Linked DNA regions of Homo sapiens: region 1 is linked to region 2. The links are contacts of gene promoters, found by promoter capture Hi-C in human tissues and cell types (Jung and others, 2019). All regions are on one chromosome and are shown on one strand. The core of a region is centred on a gene start or on the middle of the fragment in contact, and the rest is flanking DNA. Distances in the headings are between cores, read along the strand shown.

Evidence for each region. Contacts are between HindIII fragments. The study calls those that stand out against the background at their distance.
Region 1: a fragment that was not itself captured here is called in contact with the fragment with the promoter of FOXE1 in region 2 in 2 of the 25 tissues and cell types used here (IMR-90 fibroblasts and liver).

Annotation. Positions count from the first base shown.
Region 1 is chr9:98,002,401-98,009,753 of GRCh38, reverse strand. ANP32B (acidic nuclear phosphoprotein 32 family member B) reads right to left here. Exons shown (of 7, transcript NM_006401.3): 4 at 4,601-4,790. Among named protein-coding and RNA genes, the nearest start is that of ANP32B, 23 kb to the right of the region's middle. The HindIII fragment of the contact is 6,325 bases long and covers 432-6,756 here.
Region 2 is chr9:97,849,259-97,856,119 of GRCh38, reverse strand. FOXE1 (forkhead box E1) reads right to left here and starts at 2,894. Exons shown (of 1, transcript NM_004473.4): 1 at 1-2,894. The coding sequence starts at 2,205. The coding sequence ends at 1,084. It overlaps PTCSC2 (papillary thyroid carcinoma susceptibility candidate 2), which reads left to right and starts at 3,040. Exons shown (of 11, transcript NR_147055.1): 1 at 3,040-3,204. RefSeq lists an enhancer at 3,926-4,427. The HindIII fragment of the contact is 9,888 bases long and covers 1-6,861 here.

The sequences.
Region 1 (7,353 bases), core at 2,345-4,844, 150 kb before region 2:
TGATGTGAAAACTAATCATTCTGCTTCCTCCAAACCAGGGGTTCCCAACTCCCAGGACTGGTACTGGTCTGTGGCCTGGGCCGCACAGCAGGTGGTGAAGAGCAGGCCAGTGACCATTACCACGTGAACTCCGCCTCCTGTCACATCACCTGTTAGATCCTCATAGGAGTGCAAATTCTATTGTGAACTGCGCATGTGAGGGATCTGGACTGTGCATTCCTTATGAGAATCTAATGCCTGATCTAAGGTGGAACCGTTTCATCCCAAAACCATTCAGCTGCCGCCCCCAACCCCTTCCCTGCATCTGTGGAAAAACTGTCTTCCATGAAACCAGTCCCTGGTGCCAAAAAGGTTGGAGACTGCTGCTCTAAGCCACCTGTACGTGAGAAGCGTTTTATTCTAAGAGTGACTGAGAATAAACAAACTCAGCATGCAAAGAAAACACAAACTAATCAGGAGGAATATCTTGGGTAGAAAGTATTAGTTATTTCTTAAAATCTGTAAATCTGTAAAATATGTATAAATCCTGGGTCAAATGCCAAAACTACTGAAAATCATCTTTTAATTCTATGTTATGATCAGAGATTATTTCCCTTATGAATGAAAAACGGAATCTAACATATAGTTATTTGAAATCATTACCTTTTAAAACTCTGGTCATATGTCAATGGAAGGGAAAGCTATTTTATTTATAGCTGGCAATAACAAACAGGTACCAAGTACCTACTCAGTGTCAGGCCCTGTGAATCAGGAGATAAGTATCTACCCAAGATGATGACTGTAGTGCAGTAGGACAGCGGTCCTCAACCTTTTTGGCACCAGGGACCAGTTTTGTGGAAGACAATGTTTCCACAGCCTGGGGGTGGGGGGATGGTTTCAGGATGATTCAAACGCATTATGTTTATTCTGCACTTTATTTCTATTATTACATTGTAATATATAATGATATAATTATACAACTCATCATAATGTGGAATCAATGGGAACCCTGAGCTTGTTTTCCCTGCAACTAGACAGTCCCATCTGGGGGCAATGAGAGACAGTGACATTCGAAGTGTGTGCTGCTTATGTCCAGTATACTCCATAATCTTGTTTTGGTTGCTGTCACTGCAGAAAACTTTGCTTCACAAAGATAGGATATTGGAAATGGAAGCAGGTTTTTCAGTGCTTTTTTGGCAATCTCAGGATATTCCACCTCGACTTTAATCCAGAATATATGGAGATTTTGAAGTTGTCTCAAACCATACTTTTAAGGCCACTGCCATTTGTGATCTCAACCAGTTGATCCTCTTCAAGCATGAACAAAGTCGATTGACCTGGCTTATTCATAAATGGGTTGTGGATCCATTCCTTCCCAGTTCGGGGGTCTTTTGTGGTTGGGAAGTAATGCTCAAACTCTTTTGAGAGCTGAGATAGGTGATCATGCACCAGCTGTGAGAAAGAAGGCCCTGGCTCACTCTCTTTCAAAAATCACTCCTACTGTTTGAAACATGTCAAAAATCCCAATGCTCAGAACAGAAAACTAAGTATCGTATGTTCTCACTTGTAAGTGGGGGCTGAATGATGAGTATACATGGACACATGGAGGGGAACAACACACACTGGGGCCTGTGGAGGCTGGGGACGGAGAGCATCAGGAAAACTAGCTAATGGACAGTGGGCTTAATACTTAGGTGATGGGATGGTACACGTTTATCTCTGCGACAAACGTGCACATGTACCCCTGAACTTAAAAAAAAAAGTTTTACCACTCATTCTGTGTTACTAAAATGTTCTGCTAGTGGTGACTGTTATTCTTAGAGAAATCTCTGGAGCAGGCCTCTTAACTCAAAAACTCTGGCCAGTGATCCACCTTTAGAACGCCATCTCGCTTCTCTGTGTAAGAGAAGTATTCTCTGCATCCATCTCACAGAACTGCGTGAACAGACATGGGTTAAGGGCATGTACTTTAATGTGGTTAATTTTAATCACATCCTGCAAAACGTTAAGTTCAGGTGACATTTGTCAGCTAGCCAGCATTTCTCTATGGATGACACAGTGCATAGACTCACATCCAGAAGCGACCTCTCTGACTCGAGTAGTGAAACCAGAAAGCCGTCCAGCCATGGCAGCCGCTCCATCTGTGCATATACGACACAAAATGACCAATTCAGTTTTCCTGATATGTAATCGTTCAAAAGACTTGAATAGTTCTGCAGCTGTGGTGCTGGTTGGCAACGAAGTACACATAACATAGTCTCATGCACATCCTCCTGAAAATATATTGCACAAAAACAAGCATTGTTGCCATGTTGTCAACATCGGCAGACTTGTCAACCTGCAATGTGTACCACGGTGACTCATCAATCCTCTCTAACAACTATGCCTCAATATCCTCTACTATGTCATCAATTCATCTAGTTATGGTGCTAGCTCAAAGAGGAACATGTGCCACCTTTTGAACTGCAGCTTAACTGCAGCCTCTCCTAAAAGTTCATGACAAATGTCCTTAGCAGCAGGCAGGATCAACTCTTCAATAGTAAAGGGCTTCTTACTTTAGCAATGCAGTTAGTTAAGGGCTTCTTAGCTTTAGCAATGCAGTTAGCCACTAAGAATGAGATGTTCTCAGTGCAGTCACATTTGATGAAGTGGGAGCTTTCAATAATTGCCTCTGTTTTTCACGTTCATGTTTATTTCTTTTGAAAAACTCCAAAGGCTTGTCTTTTAAACGCAGGGTGCTTGGTCTCCAAGTGGTGAAGCAGTTTTTTTTTTGTTTGTTTGTTTTTTGAGATGGAGTCTTGCTCTATCGCCCAGGCTAAAGCACAGCGGCACAATCTCGGCTCACTGCAACCTCCGCCTCCCAGGTTCAAGCAATTCTCATGCCTCAGCCTCCCGAGAAGCTGGGACTAAAGGTGTGCACCACCATGCCTGGTTAATTTTTGTATTTTTGCAGAGCCAGGGTTTCCCCATGTTGGCCAGGCTGGTCTTGAACTCCTGACCTCAGGTGATCTACCTCGGCCTCTGTAAGTGCTGGGATTACAGGCATGAGCCACTGTGCCCAGCCAGTGAAGTGGTTTTGAAGGTTTCATGGCTTTGTTGGATAGCTTGTTGCCACATATTATACAAAGTGGGCTTGGAGAATGTGAATCATCTGTTGCAATGAACCTGTAATTTAAGTAGCACTCTTGGTATTTTCTTTTCAATGAAGCTTTCTTTTCATTGGCAGTCTTGTCTTCTGCTGTCTCATTATTGGGTCTTTCCCCCTTCTCAAAGAAGCTCTCCAGCGACGTTTTTTACTCATGTTGGATAGTTAGCTTGTGGGCCTAACAAAACTGTGACTGAGACAAATACGCAGTGCGGGAAAGAGGTGTGGATGGAAGTGGTAAATAAAAAAATGGGCAGGCCATGCACTGACTAAAAAAAGCATCAGATTCTGACTTAAAGCCTGTCACCAGATACAGCTGTACAACTGAAGTACACCAACTCACTTGCCACTATAAAGCCTGCCACCAGATGCAGCTTGTCACTTGCCACTCACAGATAGGGGTTGATGAGTCTGCAAGCAATTGATTTATTATCATCTCTGTAAAGTCAAACCTCTTTGCTAATGTTAATCTGTATTTGCAGCCACTCCCCAGTGCTAGCATCACCACCTCAGCTCTAGCATCACCACCTCAGCTCCACCTCGGATCATCAGGCATTAGATTCTTCTAAGGAGCACACAACCTAGCCCCCTCACATGTGCAGTTCACAATAGGATTCTCGTTCCTATGAGAATCTAATACCACCATTGATCTGACAGGAGGTGGAGCCCAGACAGTAATGTGAGCAATGGGGAGTGGCTGTAAATACAGATGAGGCTTCCTCACTGCTCATGCGGCCTGGTTTCTAACAGGTCATGGAGTAGTACCAGTCTGTGGCCTGTGGGTTGAAGACCCCTGAAGTAGGAAGACTTAAGAACAGCAGAGTGGCAAGCCTGTAAGAGCAAGCGGTTTACAGTTTAAACGCACAGCATCCTAACTTAGCTTGTAGACTTCAGGAAATGCTTCCCGGGCCAGGTTCAGTGTCTCATCCCTGTAATCCCACCACTTGGGGAGGCTGAGGTGGGAGGATCCCTTGAGGCCAGGTGCTTATGAAATAGGCCTTAGCTATAAATTTAATGGAATGCCTACATTCAAAAAATACACGCGTGCGCACGCACACAAACACACACTATTTTCCTCAATAGTAAGAACATCTAGTAGCTTTTTTTTTTGAGACACCCTGTCTGTCTTCTGAGACGGAGTGCAGTGGGGAACAATCATGGCTCACTGTAGCCTCAAACTCCTAGGTTCAAGTGATCCTCCCACCTCGGCCTCCAGTCTTCTGAGTAGCTAAGACTCCAGGTGTGCGCCACCACACCTGGCTAATTTTTTTTTTTTCTATTTTCTGTAGAAACAAGGTATTGCCATGTTGCCCAGGCTAGTCTCAAACTCCTGGGCTCAAGCAATGCCCCCTGCCTCGGCCACCCAAAGTGCTGGGATTACGGTTGTGTGCCACTGCGCCCGGCCAACATCCAATAGCTTTTATCAGAGGCTTTGAAAGGCAGACATCAGGTTCACCAGATGCTGAGCCTACTCACCTTCGTCCTCCTCCTCTTCATCCACACCATCCACCTCGGCATCTGAGTCAGGTGCTTCCTGGTCCTCTCGGTCATAGCCATCCAAGTAGGTAAGCTGGGGCAGGAGCTTGAAGACACTCTCTCGGTAGTCATTCAGGTTGGTAACCTCACAGTTAAAGAGGTCCAGGCTTTTCAGACATTCTAACTTTTTCTGAAGAAAAGGATCAAAAACCACAACTCCTAAACCAAAGGAATATAAGTAACAAATCCATCTCTTGAAGAGGTAAAATTCTAGGCTCTATATTCAATTTCCACTACCCACTCAGCCTCATATATAGAAAAATACATCAAGTCTTTTGCAACCTTTATATTAGGTTACTAGACTTTAGTCCCTCTCTTCCTTTATCTACTCTCCCAGAGAACTATGTGTTTTTCTGGCAGCATAGTAGTCTAAAGAAATATAAATTGAAAATAATTTTTATTAAATCCAGGTATTTTCACAGTATGAGACAATCAAACAGTTTAATAAATTTAGCTGAAACAAATGTTAACATTTGAGTAATCAAATGGCCATTAAGAACTTCCTGGGTATCAAGCGGTCTTTAATGTTCTAGGGTGGCAGTATAGGGAAAAATTCAGAGATTTATAACACAATCTTAGGGTGCTTACAATTTTAGTTAGGGCACAGACATGAAACACTAGAGGATGAAATATAATAAAATATAAAGTGTGGCAATGCAGCTACTTTCAGGGAAGACAGGAGTCAATATGGGCTGAGGAAAAAGCAGAGGGGCGCAGAGTTGAAACTTCGGAAATACGGAGAAACATTGCACTCTTCTTTTTTAGTATTTGGGGAAAAGACTGACATGTTACCAGACTTTTATGATGTAAAGTTCTTCTGATTTTATTTACCATACCTTGAAATTTTGTTGCAATACCTCATTTCTTTGGAACCATCAGTTTCATCTATCTAAAAACAGTTAAGCTATAAAAAGTTGGCCCAAGTCAAGTTTTCTGAGTAGTCAAAGTGCACTGGAAAATGTCTATGTATTTACTCAGATCTTCATTTGTTATTATATCAGTGTACTAGTATTTCAATCCCAGGTCTATTAAGTTTTGATTAAGGGTAAATTAAGAGATTGAGAGGGCAGAGGTACTACACTATAGGCAAGTCAGGAGACAGCAACAGGAAGTGACAGCAGACCCTTGTAGATAGAAGAGGGAGCAGCCTATGAAAGGCAAATCCAATGTGAAGTAGCACATAGCCTGGTGCCTTTCAGAATAGGGGCAATAACTACATATATCTGGATAGCTTCATAAACACAACCTTTAATGGTTCTGAATCAAGAGAAAAACTTCGGTATTCTCTAAGAAGATAGTACTAAAAACACCCAAACAAACTTTAAGAGGACCTCCACATAAAATAATTTCTAAAAAAATAAATGTTGATGCTTAACAGGTTTTGCTGCTTTATTAGGAAAGCTGTTACAACACTCACAAGGACCTGAGAAGAAATGCAGACAAAACAAAACCTTATTTTCAGAACTCAAGGTATCTATGTAGTTCTGAGGAGATATAAAATGGTGTGAAAATCTGCCTCAAGGCTCTAGAGCAGGGGTTGGGAACCGGTGGTCCAGTGGCCAATTCTGGCCCACCACTTGTTTTTGTAAAATAAGCTCCATTGGAACACAGTCACACTCATTTATTTATGTATGGCTCCTTATGTACTAAAATGGCCAAGCAGACTAGTTGTGACAGAGACTATATAAACAGGCTACAAAGCCAAATGAACCTACTATTTGGCCCTTAGAGAAAAGGGCTACTGACCCCTGCACATGAAGAACTTCATCTTCTTGATGAAGAAAGAGGCTCCCACACTTGTTTTATTCATGCAGGGAACACACAGCAGGGTTACAGCAACAGGAAAACGTTGCACCCCTCAAAACACAAATTGTACAATGATCCAAGAGTCTGTGGATCAAACAATGTGCTTATATAGTCAGTTCCTTGACGTTTTAAGAAAGCTGTCCCCAGCCCTTCTGGTCATAGAGCTGCTTTTGTATCATGTAATTTTCAGATTAGCTTCCCTTCCAGTCAGGCCCTGACTTCCAGAAGCCCAGGTATGACTTCTTGCCAAAGAGGAAAAAAATGCTGCAATGCCACCCCAGATGGCTAGCTAGCATACTGGCTTTCTCTTCACAAAGGCTGACTCGATGCCAGCTAGAGTCAGCTTTAGGCAGCTTTTCCAAAAAGGTTCACTCTAAAAATTCTCCACTTAAAGGAATGAGCCATTTATATTTCAGAATTATTTCCTAGAAATAGGTGCACAAAAACACATACAACCTCTGATATTTATCTAATGCTTTTTAATACCAAAAGCCCTTTCTCTATCTAGTTTCATTGACTCTTCCAGTACACAGGGCCTCCAAGGCTCTCCTGTTTCTGAAACTGTACAATTATGTGAGATTTTTGGCTACTTCCTGGCAAAGCACCCCTTCTCAAACAATTTGGACATGCCAATCAGTAGTTTGAAAAATGAAATGAAAGCAAGAAAACAACAAAAATCCCAAATAACTGTAGTACTCTGGAACTGCTGAAAGTAGTAAAATTGTGCTTTAAGGCCCAATAGGCACAAAATACACTACACACAGATTATTCAGGATCCCAATGTAATGTGTAAATACTGATTAAAAAAAATTACAACTCTACCATACCAGAAATTTGATGTAAGCTAATAGGCTAGCCATAATAAACATTAAACATTTTATTAACAA
Region 2 (6,861 bases), core at 1,645-4,144:
CCCAGCTACTGAAAGGCGTCACCAACGGGCTCCTTGAATCCTCTCATCTCCTTAAACTTTAGTTCACCCTTTGGGTCCAGGGCTGCGTGATGACAAGAAACAGTGGACAAATGAACGAATGTACTTCTCTCTGCCTTATAATGGAAAAGCAGATTTATGACTGGGCAGTAACAGCCATGAAATTACCAGCACGTCCTGCTCAAAAGTTCAATAAGTTATGATATAATTGCTGCCTGGAGCCAATCCTGGGACTTTAGGTTAGACGCTTGGCCATGAACTCTTTTCCGTTCCCTAGAACAGCGGCTAGGCTTTGGGTGGCTACTCAGAGGCCCTGGGTGGCCCACCATTGCTGCCAAATACGCAGGGCAGCATCCAAGATGATGGGGCCCTGAATGATAACCCGGGGGCGGTGGATAGAGTCCTGCAGCCCTCTAGTGTAACAGATGGGGGAGACTGAAGGTTCAGGTGATGGGACTGGAGTGCTGACGCACAGTTCAACTCGGAGCTAGGTCTCAAGTTCTCAGAGACAGGGAAAACCAGCCCAGGTCAACCAGAGCAGAGATTTCTCCAATTTAAAAAAGAAGAAAAGCCTATTTCTTTTGCAAATTTGTCCTCCTCACTTTAAGAAGAAAGGCGCTGCCGCAGCCTTTTATTGTAGTAACGCAGTTAAAGGCACTAGAGGACGAACCGCGTAAAAAGGCCCGAGTTCCGGCAGCACATGGAAGGCTGAAACTGATTCCCCACAATTTGGATCCTGGTCTCTGGTGTTGACACTACGCTGCCCTCTGGTTACCGCCAAGGACCCTCCCCGATAGAATACCAGAAAGCATCCCGTTTGAGGGCTTCGCTCCATCGAGGGTCCCTGTGCCAGTCCAAGGGCTCTGGCTGCCTCGCCCCACCTCCTCCCGTTTACAGAGTACACCGGGTGCCTACGCTGTGCGCGGGGAGACCGAGCCTCTGTGGCCTGCTCGGTCTTTTCCACGTGGGTCCCAGTTGAGTCCTCTCTCCATTCCTGTTCGTTCTCAGATTGCGGGGAACGTGTGAACAGCCGATGTGTCTATGAGTTTTCGTCCCTACGCTGGCTCACATGGCGGACACGAACCGATCTATCCCACCGGGATAAGCGGCAGCATGGCGAGCATGGTAGGCGCCTGCACTGGCCCCTCCGAGCTGCCCGCCAGGGTTGTAGCAGGCTCCCAGCGCTCCGAACTGGCCGGGCGACGTGCGCCCGTAGAAGTCCACCGTGGTCTCCACGCCGCCACTGCTGCCGCCCGCTGGGGGCGAAGCGGGTCCCGCCAGGCGGCCAGCAGCGGCAAAGATCGCACTGCCGGCGCCCTGCGGGTACGCGCCGTCGGGGCCCGCGTAGGCAGCCGCATAGGCGGAGGGGTTGGCCGGCCGGGCCCCGGTGCAGCCTGCGGGCTGGTAGCCGGTGGTGGTAGCGGGGGCGCCGGCGGAGGCAAAGGCGCAAGAGCCGCCGGGCCCCGACGGTGCGGGCCCCAGCTCTGGGCTGAGCGGCCGCTCAGGAACCAGGCCGAAGACGCGGCAAGGGCCGGGCGACGCCGCGGGGTAGTAGACTGGAGGCGGCGCGGCCAGCGACGGCGGCGCGTAGCCTGCATAGACGGCGCCCGGGTAGGGGGGGCGCGCGGCGGGCACCGCGCCTGGGAAGATGGCGGCGGCGGCGGCGGCGGCGGCGGCGGCGGCTGCGGCAGCCGCCGCGTCGTGCATGTAAGCCGGGTAGGTGGAGAGGTCCGAGCGCTTGAAGCGCTTGCGGCGGCGCAGGAAGCTGCCGCTCTCGAACATGTCCTCCGCGTTGGGGTCAAGCGCCCAGTAGTTGCCCTTACCCGGGCGGCCGGCCTCGCGCGGGATCTTGAGGAAGCAGTCGTTGAGTGTGAGGTTGTGGCGGATGCTGTTCTGCCACTTTTTGGGGTTGTCGCGGTAGAAGGGGAAGCGCTCGGTGATGAACTTGTAGATGCCGCCCAGCGTGAGGCGGCGCTCGGGCGCGTGCGCGATGGCCATGGCGATGAGCGCGATGTAGCTGTAGGGCGGCTTCCCGCGCTGCAGGGGGCGCTTGCGGCGCCGCCCGCCCGCCCCGCGGCCCGTGGCCTCCCCTGGGACCCCGGCCCCTGCTGCCGTCTCGCCGCGCTCTTCCTTCACGGTAGCCAGCACCTCCGGCTGCGGCGGCGGCGGCCCGCTCTCGGCAGTCATGGCGCGGGCGTCCCGCACCCCCGGGCTCTGGATCCCCGCGGCTGTCGGGGGGCGGGGGCGGGCCTGGCGTCCCCGGAACGGACGCTCGGCCCTTCTGCGGAGAGCTCAGGGGATCGTCGCGGGCTGGCCCCGAGAGCCCAGCGGCCCAGGCTGGCACGCGCTGGAGGCTCAGCGTCCGTGGTCTGGGGCTGGCGCGGTGCAGACAGAGGCTCGGGAGTGACCCGCTAGCCGACGGCTCAGCCCGCGTGGTGCTTCTCGAGGCGGGCAGCGGCGGTGGCCTCGTGACCGGGACTGGACTCTGGTCTCCGGCTGAAGGGTCCCTTGCGCGCTGGTGCCGGGCGGTCGAGGGGTCCGGAAGTGATCCCTGGGTTGGGGTGGCTGCAGCTGGTCTGTGGTGCCCGCTAGTTTAGGATTACTGCCTAGGTTGTGCGCGCAGAAGAGGCTTCGGGCTCGAAGGCCAGAGCGAGGGCAGTTAGTACTGGCGCTGGGCGATCTGGCGGGGGCCGCCCATGCCCTGCCCCCGAGGCCAAGGTGGCCGTAAGCGCCACGGGCAGAGAGGCGAGGCGGGGGCAGCGAGGTCGGGGCGCGGGCCCAGGCGGGGCGACCTGAGGCTGGTCCTCTCCACGGCGTGGGTCTCCAGCCCTGCGGACCGCTGGCGAGGCGCTCCCCTGCACACACCGGACCGGCTCCTCCCTCCGCCGGCTTCCCCTCCTTAAAGGGGCCACGAAGCGTGGGGCGGCACCGGTTCCCTGCCCGCCCCCCGACTGCCCGCCCCCCGGGGCCCGGGCGCACCTCCCCAGGTAGGAGCAGCTGTGGCGGCGCGGTAGGAGCCCCACAGCGTCAGGGCGGGGAGGGCGCTTGGAGATCCCCCGGGTCGGCCCCCTCCGCACCCCGATCGACTGAGGCCCGGAGAGTTCAGGAACCGGCTCGGGAGACCTCAGCGCCCGAACTCGGAGTTTTCGGACTTTTCAGGCCTCTGCCAAGGGCTTGGACTCGCAGGTGAAAGGACGGGCTCATCTCACTTTTTTGTCCTGAGAGGGTGAGAATTGGCCGAGAGGGCGCTTGGTTTTTGTGGGAATGGGGAGGGAGAAGTTCCAGGAGACTGGCTCCCCGGGCCTTTCAGGATGGTTTCCAAACCCCAATCGTGGCTGCCACAGCCACTCGGCACTCCAGTCCCCCCATCTTTCGAATGAGTATTCCTAGGCCCGAAAGGGAAGGTGACTTGCCATGGCCCCACTGCGGCTTCTCCGCTTAGCGGAGTCTCCAACCTGCGTCTCCTTTAGGACTGCGCTTCCCAACTGTGTGGTAGAGGTAGCCGCTTTCCCTTTTTGGGCCCCAGGTCCCTCGACTGTACCGGGGTCTGGATCTCTCAAGAGTCCTTGCGTGGTAGATATTTAGGGATAGGCCAATCACCACCCCCAATCATCCGTCTTTGAGAGGCCCAGGATCTGTCTCTATTTGATGGATAGTGGTGCACGGATTAAAGACGACGCAGGATAGGTAACCTCCTCCTCCAATCCCCCGGGACCAGGGTAGCTCTGAAGACCCCCAGAGGCAGCCAAGCAGCCCCTTCCCGCAGCGGGGAGTGAGGGCTGCGGGTAATGGGGGAGTGGGAAGAGAGCGGTGGCCGGGTGGGCGCGTCTCCGGGGGAAGGGGCGGGCAGTCGGGACACGTTTGCTTCATGGGTGTCCAATTTCTGAGTTCCTTTCCTGCTGTCCCTGAGCCGGAACTTGGTCCTAACCTGAGATCCTCGCGGCGCGGCCCCTCTGGCCCGGGTTCGTTCCCTGGCCATTCACTGGGAGATCCAGGGCCTGTCCTTGTCCCCTCGCAGGGCCTCAGTGTTCTACTCTGTTAAATAGCAGCTGGAGGGCGTGTGCTGATCTCCGAGGCCCCTGCTACGTATAGGATTCCGGGCCTTGGCGCGGGTTCCAGTGGCTCCAGCCCGGACGCAGCTTTCCGGGGTGGGGGGGGGGGGCGGGCCGGGGCTGTGGGTGCAGAGCCGCGCGGATGGTGGTGCCAGGTGAGTGTGGGAGATCCCAAGACGAGAGTTCTGGCCAGTAACGGGTGGCATGCCTTCCAGGGTTTTAGTCGCGTTCTTCGTGGCGGTGAGCTGAGGGCAGGCTAAGCCCGGCCAAGCGTTGGGCAGCTGCCTTCGGAAGAGCGAGGCAAAGCCCAGATCCTTGCTCCGTCGACCCGGTGTGTGGAAACGCTCAAAGCGTTTGCTTGACAACCTTCTGCGGCAGAGGGTTGGTCGAACGAAGGGAGAGGGGCTTTACACTCGCTAAACAAAACTCCTGGTTTCCTTCTTCCCAAGTAATGGAGAAGCAAAAAACCCAGATTTCGTCCTGTTTCGTTTTTACAAAGGAGGAAAAACTTCAAATTTTAAAATTTTTAACTGGATTATATTATAGGCACCTTTTAATACGGGATTTCGTGGCTCTCAGTAACTTTCAAGATTCTGAGATTCAGATATCTAGATTTTAAATTCTGGACGACCGTTGTCCTAACGTGATTCCATAAATCTAAAGAATGCGATCCTGCGATCCTGCGACCCTGTAATTCTAAGATTCCAAGACTGGGAGTCTAACTTTGACTATGCTTATATTCCTTTGACTTAAGCTTCTAGTCAAAGTCTAAAAACCTATGTATTAAGATACTGGGACTAAACCAGGCACGGTGGCGGGAGCCTGTAGTCCCAGCTACTGGAGGTTAAGGCAGGAAGATCGCTTGAGCCCAGGAGTTCCAGGCTGTAGTGCACAATCATTGTGCCTGTGAGTAGCCACAGCACTCCAGCCTGTGCAGCAAAGGGAGACCCGGTCTCTTAAAAGCAAAACAAAACAAACAAAAAACGGGGACCTAAGATTTTGTGCCTGAAAATATGATGCCACTCTTGAAGCTGCCACTTCTCCAGTTTTTTATTTTTTCCACTCTAAGTTATATATTATTTAATTTGAATTCCTGTTTAGGAATGTCTGATTGGAAGAATTTGAATCCTGTAAATCCGCAGTTCTCTCCTTCCTTAATTCTAAAATGTTAGTGCTGGATCTGCTATTCTGTAGTTCAAATAATCTGATTCCAATAATTCTTCTAATGTTTGTGATTATATGCTGTAATGATTAGTCCCATGACTTTATGATCCTCTACTTTTAAGCTGCAACGACTATGGCTAAAAGCCTTCTTGTCTCAGGATTTTCTGTTCTTCAGTGTCTTGTGTCTGTGACCTCATTCTTCTAGAATTCTGATGGTTTTCTCAAACTTTGTTAATATCAAGCTACTCCTGTGGCCGAGACCAAATACCTAGCATCATGAGATTAGAATTTCCAAGATCATGATTCTAAGATTTTCGCAAACCAAGGACCCCTAAATTTCTATTTCATAAATGTTCTCTTTGAATAATGCATTTGAAGATTCTGTGAGTCCACAGTGAGTTCACATTAAATGATTTGGTGAGTACACAGGTCACAAGTTTACCCGTTTGGATCAAAACCATACACAAAAATCTCCTCGGGGCATTTCCTATCTCTTCCCATTGCTTCCTTCTCAGTTTCTTGAGAAGGAACATGGTCATGGCCAAGTCCTCCCCTCTTCTCTGCCACAGTGCTCCTTAACGTTTATGAATCATCTGGAAGTTAGGAAGGGCAGGTTCCAGACCCTTGGAAATCATTCTCCCAATCCAGCAGGGGTGGGTTGGTGTTGATGTGGGCAGGCCAGTGATTTCTGCTTCCCACTGATCTTCAGCCCTTCAAGTATTCCCAGCACCCCTGGAGAAGCCAGCCTGCAGCAGGCCATTTTATGTGCATAGGGGGCTGGAGGTGCTATTGGGAATCTTTAGAAGATGTTCTTCTGCAACAGCTGCTTTCCTCAGTTTTGAATGGGCGACTTTGTAAATAAAAACGAGAGGGGTCCAAGGAGTCAAGGAAAATTCCTCCAGATTCCTTGACGGAGATTCCCCTGCATGCAGACGCAGAGGTAACCAGTTCTTCTATTAAAGAAACCATGGAAATTCAAGCTGGAAGGAGACTGGGCCTGGATTGTGGAAGGGACTTGTAGAGAGAAAAGCCTTGGGCTGAGAAGGAAACTCAGGTCTTTGGGCCTTACTCTTTGGCCCCAAAGCCTCTCTGTCTTTTCTTGAGTTCTCAGAGCCTTACTTGTACTTAATTCTTTGGCCTGGGCTGCCCTTTTTACTGAACAACAAAACTCCAGGCGTCCACACTTGCAAATCTGATCCAAGGATCTCCTTACAGCAGCATCGCAGTGACCTGTTTAGGTTACTCCAGTGCATTCTGTCTGGGTCAGTGGGCTGTATGGCCCTAGAGAGCATCAGAGCAAGACACTGTCACAAAAGGGGGCCCCCAAGTCACACTCGTCCTGCTGACCACAGAAGACATCCATGTAAGGCAGCACCAGTGTTGTGAGGGTTTCCACCCAAGATTGCTCAAGACCCACCCAGCGACTTTAAACCATCCACTGCCCTTCTTAGGCCTCAGTTTCTCTATCTGTGAAGTGTGTATGTGGGGATATCCCATATCTGTGCTTTCTCTTCCACCGAGTCAAGGTGATAAAGTGGAGCGCCTTACAGACGCGCGGTCCTCTTCTTCCTCTTTTAAATTGTTTTAAGGCGAAACTTGGACATGGAAAAAAGACGCTGGGGATAAT